Regions from separate parts of the Homo sapiens genome. Here region 1 is linked to region 2. Evidence: promoter capture Hi-C in human tissues and cell types (Jung and others, 2019). All regions are on one chromosome and are shown on one strand. The core of a region is centred on a gene start or on the middle of the fragment in contact, and the rest is flanking DNA. Distances in the headings are between cores, read along the strand shown.

What was found. Contacts are between HindIII fragments. The study calls those that stand out against the background at their distance.
Region 1: a fragment that was not itself captured here is called in contact with the fragment with the promoter of GCFC2 in region 2 in 2 of the 25 tissues and cell types used here (H1 embryonic stem cells and small bowel).

What each region holds. Positions count from the first base shown.
Region 1 is chr2:75,807,891-75,812,001 of GRCh38, reverse strand. No RefSeq gene overlaps it. Among named protein-coding and RNA genes, the nearest start is that of GCFC2, 99 kb to the right of the region's middle. The HindIII fragment of the contact is 7,265 bases long and covers 1-4,111 here.
Region 2 is chr2:75,709,213-75,712,990 of GRCh38, reverse strand. GCFC2 (GC-rich sequence DNA-binding factor 2) reads left to right here and starts at 2,076. Exons shown (of 17, transcript NM_003203.5): 1 at 2,076-2,400. The coding sequence starts at 2,136. LOC105374813 (a long non-coding RNA gene) reads right to left here and starts at 2,052. Exons shown (of 3, transcript XR_940260.2): 1 at 1,957-2,052. RefSeq lists an enhancer at 695-1,266 and a silencer at 2,245-2,544. The HindIII fragment of the contact is 14,441 bases long and covers 1-3,778 here.

The DNA.
Region 1 (4,111 bases), core at 1,231-3,730, 99 kb before region 2:
CTGCATCTCTAGCCATCTTATCTATAATTCAGGTACAAAAAAAGGAGAAAAGGTAAGGGATGGTGCCTGGAACAAGAAAGTATGAACTGGATATCCACATGCAAAATAATGAAGTTGGCCCCTTACTTCATGCCGTACGCAAAAAAACGATTCCCAGATAGAACAAAGGTCAAAATGTCAGAGCTAAAACTACAAAAATCTCAGAAGAAAACAAAAATATAAATCTTTGTGACCGTGGATAAGGCAATTGTTTCTTAGATATGACATCTAAAGCATAGGCAACCAAAGGAAAAAAAATAAATTATATTTCATTAAAATTTATAACTTTTGTGCTTCAAATGATACTATACTATCAAGAAAGTGAAAAGACAACCCAAAGAATGGGAGAAAACATTTGCAAATCATATATTTGATAAGGGTCTAGTGTCCAGAATACATAAAGAAGTATTACAACTCAATAATATAAAGAAAAATAAATTAAAAATTGGCAAAGGATCTGAATAGTCATTTCTCCAGGAAGGCACAAAAATGGCCAATAAGCACATGAAAAAAGCCGAGCATTCCATTCCTAATGGGAAATGCAAATCAAAACCACAACAAAATGCTACTTTATACCCACTAAGATGCCTGTGGGTATAAAGACACACAATAACAAGTGTTGGCAAAGAATGTGGAGAAATTAGAACCCTCATGCATTGCTGTTGGGTCTGCAAAATGGTGCTGTTGCTTTGGGAAGCAGTTTGGCAGTTCCTCAAAAATTGAACCTAGTGTTGGCATTAGAACCAGCAATCCTACCCCAGGTATATACCCAAGAAAACAGGAAACAAATGTTCACACAAAAACTTGCACATGAATGTTCATAGCAGCATTACTCATCATGGCAAACAACCCAAATGTACATCGACTGACGCATGAATAAACAAAATGTACTACCCACAAAATGTAATATTATTCAGCCATTTTAAAAATATGAAGTACTGACACACGCTACAACATGGATGAACCCAGACAACACTGTGCTAAATGAAATAAGCCAGACCCATAGAGTCAATATTACGTGGTTCCACTTGTATAAAATATCCAGAATCAGCACATCCACACAGGTGGAAAGTAGACTAGTAGTTGTCAGGGTCTCAGTGGAAGAAGGAATAGGGAGTGACTACCAATGGATAGGGTGGTTTCTTCCGTGTGACGAAAATGTTCTAAAATTAAATGGAGTTGATGGTTGCACAACTCTGTGAAAAGATTAATAGCTACTGAAATGTATATTTTGAATAGATGAGTTATATGACATGTAAATTACATTTCAACAAAGCTGTTTAGAGGAAGGGTGGGGAGGAGAGGAGGGAGGGGAAAAAGGGAGGGAGGAAGGAGGAAGAGAGAGAGAGACAGAGAGTGAGAGAGAGTATAAGCTTCTCTAGGAACCCCAAAGCAGGACTATTGCTGAATCTCTTTTGCCTAATTTGTTTTACCTGTAGATAGAAGTAGCTTCTTGAGGTTAGGACTTGCCACTATGTCTCCTGCAAATTCCTGGGGTTATGACTTACCATTGTCTCCTGCAAATATTGCTCAAAACACCTCAGTATTACTTGTCACTGAAGAAATACGAAGACCCAGGCTTAGAAGTGAATTAACTGGGTTTTAATTGCAGCTCTTCCACTTTGAAGAAATTCATATCCTCTCATTAGGCCTCTGAAAGATGCTGCCAGGGCTCTGCTCATTTCTTTTCTCATCCTTTTTCCATTTTTGTGCAGACTGGCTTATGTTCTTATTTCTCAAAGGCCTGCACTCCATCTTTTTGTCAGAGGCTGCCTTCAGGCTGACAGAGAGCCTAAAGGGCTGAGGACGTGTGCAACTCTTTTTTTTTTTTTTTTTTTTTTTTTTTTTTGAGAGAGTCTCGCTCTGTCTCCCAGGCTGGAGTGCAGTGGCCTGATCTCGGCTCACTACAACCTCTGCCTCCCGGGTTCAAGAGATTCTCCTGCCTCAGCCTCCCGAGTAGCTGGGACTACAGGCATCCGCCACCTTGCCTGGCTAATTTTTGTATTTTAAGTAGAGACAGGGTTTCACCATATTGGCAAGGCTGGTCTCGAACTCCTGACCTTGTGATCCGCCCGCCTCGGCCTCCCAAAGTGCTGGGATTACAGGCGTGAGCCACCGCACCTGGCCGTGTGCAACTCTTAGTCAGTGTCTGTCCTGTTGTGTACAGAGGATATAAATATCCCAATCACCTTGCTTTGCAAACAGGACACCTCCCAGGTTAGACCCACAGTGATTATGAGGCTTTCGTGGTTTTGAGCCAAAGCTGAGTACCCTTATGTGACCTTCTTCTCTTCCCAGTCCCGAATTCTTCGCTCCTACTAGGAACATATCCCAATAAATCCCCTCCACAGGAATCCTCAACTCAGAGTCTGCTTCTGGAGAACCCAACCTAAAGGAACCTTATATGCTTATCTGCAAAATAATAGTTAAGAGGGGTAATGGGAAAAAAGATCTATGAAGGCAACAGAGCAGGCTCTAGAACATGTCTTGTCAGAACATTCTTTTCTTTCAGTAAGTTTTTATAGGCCATGAACAGAAGGACCCAGAGGGAACTAACGATATGGTACAATGAGTGACTGAATAAATGGGCAAGGCAGAAAAACAGGAAGTCTTAGATGCCACACAGCATAGTAATTGAGAATGTGGACTCAGGGAAGCTGGCCTAAATTTGGATCTCAAGTACTCCAGCTACCTGGGCATGTGATTTATTTCTCTAAGTGTCCATTTTCCCCTCTGCAAATGGAAATAATAACAATACCTGTCTCATAAAGCTGTTGAAAGGTTTAAATGAGATCATGGATGTACAGCATCTGGCATAATAAAAAGTTAGCTGTTGCTGTGGTGGTGATGACAGTGGTTATTTTTATTGTAGATGTGTGTAGCATTAGTAGTAGAAGTAATCCGAGGACACCAAATACAAACTTTACTGACTTCACAATTTCACCACGATTGAAGTTAGATCTAATCTGACAGCTGGGCTAAATTCCAAACACCTTACAGCAGATGCAGGTTTAAATTTCATTCCAAAGAATGAAACTCAGTGCCTCATGTTGAGTGTTGGAAGTGTTTTGCCTGACGGCAGAAGGCACTAGGCTTCTGTTTCAGGCAGGTGACACAGGCAGGGATTTTAATCAGCCCTCAAGGGGGTCTTCCTCACACCACCCAGGCTTCTGGTACTGCGAGAAGAACCATAGCTGTCAAACTGACAGCTGAGCAGGAAAGCCTCATAAAATAACATGGGATATATATATATATATATACATACACACACACACACACATATATATGTTTATGTATACACACATATATATTTATTTATATTTATATATATTTATTTATATATACTTATTTATATATTTATTTATATATATTTATATTTATTTTTATATATTTATATTTATTTATTTATATTTATTTTTATATATTTATTTATATATATTTATATATATATTTATACACACACACACACACATATACTTGCTTTAATTTTAAAAGGATGAAAAATGCATGGCAATTAGACTTGCCCAGGCTTAAGTTATACAGTATGGCATGTCAGTCAGCAAGCATAACAATGAGACATAAGAAGTTTGAGGAATAGGTAAACAGCTGTCAAGCGCTGCCTGGAACACAGCTTAGATATGGCACACTGAAGGGGCACACAGTGCTATGGGTCATACAAGGCATCCCAGGAATGTTATATGCCTCACCCTAAGCTAAGCAAACTCCCCTAGGAAACCAGAGACAAGCTGTGGTTGTACACACCTGTGTAAGAGTAGGACTCCATATGTTCTGACTCAGGTTCAGTTCAACCAGTATTTCTGCTTCCCTCCTGCCCCTCCACAGTCTACTCTCCGCCAAGAGCCAGAGAGATCCTCTTACCACCTGCACTAGCTCATATCATGCTTCTACTCAAAACCCTACAATAGATTTCCATCACACAGGGAACAAAGACATTAATATAACCCCAACATAACCTGGCCTCTGCATCCCTCTGTTGCCTCATTTCCTGCCCCTCTCGCCCTTACTCACTTTACTCTAGCCCACCACCCTCCTTTCTCTTCTTCAAGTTTAT
Region 2 (3,778 bases), core at 827-3,326:
AATGGTAAATGTTTAATGACTGGATATCTGGGAGAAACACCTGGACTTCTAAGGTCTTCCAATTTATATGGTATAAGTAGTCCCTTTATGGCTGATTTCAAGGTGCCAATATTGTGTCCGGAATTGGTGGGTTCTTGGTCTCACTGATTTCAAGAATGAAGCTGCGGACCCTCGCGGTGAGCGTTACAGCTCTTAAGGTGGCGCGTCTGGGGTCTGCCCCTTCTGATGTTCAGATGTGTTTGGAGTTTCTTCCTTCTGGTGGGTTTGTGGTCTCGCTGGGCTCAGGAATGAAGCTGCAGATCTTCACGGTGAGTGTTACAGCTCATAAAAGCCACGTGGACCCAAAGAGTCAGCAGTAGCAAGATTTATTGCAAAGAGCGAAAGAACAAAGCTTCCACACTGTGGAAGGGGACCGGAGCGGGTTGCCACTGCTGGCTGGGGCAGCCTGCTTTTATTCTCTTATCTGGCCCCACCCACATCCTGCTGATTGGTAGAGCCCAGCGGCCTGTTTTGACAGGGCCGTGATTGGTGCGTTTACAATCCCTGAGCTAGATACAAAAGTTCTCCACATCCCCATCAGATTAGTTAGATACAGAGTTTCCACACACAGGTTCTCCAAGGCCTCACCAGAGCAGCTAGATAGAATGTCTATTGGTGCACTCACAAACCTTGAGCTAAACACAGGGTGCTGATTGGTGGGTTTACAAACCTTGAGCTAGATACAGAGTGCCGATTGGTGTTTTTACAATCCCTGAGCTAGACATAAAGGTTCTCCAAGGCCCCACCAGAGCAGCTAGATACAGAGTGTCGATTGGTGCACTCATAAACCTTGAGCTAAACACAGGGTGCTGATTGGTGTGTTTACAAACCTTGAGCCAGATACAGAGTGCTGATTGGTGTATTTACAATCCCTGAGCTAGACATAAAGACTCTCTATGTCCCCACCAGACTCAGGAGCCCAACTGGCTTCACCTAGTGGATCCCGCACCGGGGCTGCAGGTGGAGCTGCCTGCCAGTCCGGCGCCGTGCGCTCGTACTCCTCAGCCCTTGGGTGGTCGATGGGACTGGGCGCCGTGGAGCAGGGGGTGGTGCTCGTCGGGGATGCTCGGGCAGCACAGGAGCCCATGGAGTGGATGGGAGGCTCAGGCATGGCGGGCTGCAGGTCCCGAGCCCTGCACCGCGGGAAGGCAGCTAAGGCCCGGCGAGAAATCGAGCACAGCGCCGGTGGGCCGGCACTGCTAGGGGACCCAGTACACCCTCTGTAGCCGCTGGCCCGGGTGCCAAGTCCCTCACTGCCCGGGGCTGGCAGGGCCGGCCGGCTGCTCCGAGTGCAGGCCCGCCAAGCCCATGCCCACCCGGAACTCCAGCTGGCCCGCTGTCACCTCTCAATATGACGCCACTAAACATGGAGTTGATAACAGGTGTGCAGTAGCTCAACATTATATAGTATTTCTACCATACAGATACAGTAGTAGACAGAGCTTGATGAATATAGAACAAATTTGCGTCAGACAATAGCTTTTTGTTTTTAGATAGTTTCTTTAAGGGTGAAAACATTTAACCAGGCTCTCTTGAAGCCCTGCTGCCTGGGGGAAGTCATTTGATTTTTGCTAGTCTGTATGCATTGTTTATGTACAGACTTTATGGTTTTGTTCTCAAAGGCATCTCCTCCTACCCCGAGCCTCACACTGCTGGGGTTTCGTTTGTTTTAAATCTTGGTTGGAGGGGGCACTCTCTCCAGAAAGTAAAAGACAACGGATCTGGCTCCAGTCCAGGACGGAAAGCATAACGCTTGATTTCTGGATGGGGTTTGCACAAGGACAGCACGTGAGTTCTGCTCTCCGTGGGACTCAGACCGGATAGGCCGTGAAAATCTCTAAGGTGTCAGTCCACGCAACCTAACCTGGCAAAGGGAATGCTTTGCAAACTCAGGCCCCAGAACAGAACTCGGCCTACCAGATCCAGGGAGCCAAAGCACGCAGGCGCAGACAGAGTAGCGGTGAGCAGAAGGCAGGCGGGACGGGCGCGCGCACTCGGCGGCCAGGCGCGGCGGGAGCGCGCCCTAGGGGGCGGGCACTGAAGCTGCGGCTTGCGGTTCAGCGGGTTCTAGGGCGCCGGGCGCTCGGGCCTCGGCCATGGCTCACAGGCCGAAAAGGACTTTTCGGCAGCGCGCGGCTGATTCCAGCGACAGCGATGGCGCCGAGGAGTCGCCTGCTGAGCCTGGGGCGCCGAGGGAACTTCCGGTCCCGGGTTCTGCGGAGGAAGAGCCGCCCTCTGGAGGAGGCCGCGCGCAGGTGGCGGGACTGCCCCACCGGGTTCGGGGCCCTCGTGGCCGGGGCCGGGTCTGGGCGAGCTCCCGGCGTGCCACCAAAGCGGCTCCCCGCGCGGACGAAGGCTCAGGTGTCCAGGGAGACGCGGGGAAGCGGGGAGGTGACGGCACAGGGCGGGAAGGGGCCGCGGGGTCTCTGGATCCTTCTCTGGGGGTTCTATAACTTGCTGCCGACCACAAGCCATGCTGAGTCTTATCCAGAAAGACTTATCCAGAAGGTAGTGAGCGAGAAAATAGCTCGAGCACTTGCCCGCTATCTGCATCTGCCTTTTGGACTCCTTGGGGGAAATAAAACAATCGTGTACAGTTGGGAGGCTCTTCGTTTTCACCATCAGTTGACTCCATCAGTTATAACTAACACAGTTATCAAAGTTTATGAAGAACCTAAACTGTCACAACAAAGTTCAATAATTTATAATACTATTAAGTGGGCAGAAGTTATATGTACCTTTTAGACACTTGACCAACTTATCTTTCTTGAAAACATTTAGCCAGAGTAGTACAGGAATCTAGGTTTTGGGACATTCCCCTTTGTTTATTTTCTTTTTTCACCAGTTATTTGCAAAAACTAATAGTAATATATACAACACAAAGAAGCATGATAGAGATTCATGACACTGTAGATGGTACCAGTAATGGTGTTAGATATAGTGTCGTCATTTTGAAGTACCTTTGAGTTCTTAAATACAGGTGTAAGGCAGCATAAAGTTGTTTAAATAAAATGTGCTGCTCTGAGTTGGAATTGTAGCTTAATGAGGAATACGGTTTTTGGTTAGTCTTGAGAGCTAAAATCTTCCTATTATTTTTTATTGTCATTAAAGTGATTTTTATTAATTTATTGAGAAGTAAAAAATGTATATACTTATAGTGTACAACATGATGTTTGAAATGTGTCTACAGTGACTAAATGGAGCTAATTAACATTTGCTTTACCTTAGGTACTTACTTTTTTTTGTGGTGAGAACACTTACTATCTACTCTTACTAATTTTCAAGTATGCAATGCATTGTTATTAATTTTAGTCACCGTGTTGTAGAATAGAATTCCTCTTGTCTAATTAAAATGTGTGCCCTTTGACCAGTATCTTCCCAACTACCCTCAACCTCACTCAGTCCCTTCTAACCACTACTCGACTCTCTGCTTCTGTGATTTCTGATTTCCACTTTTTTAGATTACATATGTGAGATCATGTGGTGTTTGTCTCTCTGTGCCTGTCTTATTTCATGTAACATAATGTCCTCCAGGTTTATGATCTTCGTGATTTCTTGGTCTTTCTTGTGACCTTCTATTTGTCTAAAGTTTTCATGACCTTTTATATTTGTTTTCTGGTTAAACTTTGTAGATGAAAGTTGAAGTCAGGAGTTCCTTTTCTCTTGCCTTCTAGAATAGTGGTTCTCAAACTCTTTGGGAATTGGACCTCTTTTAGACTCTTAGAAATGATTAAGGATT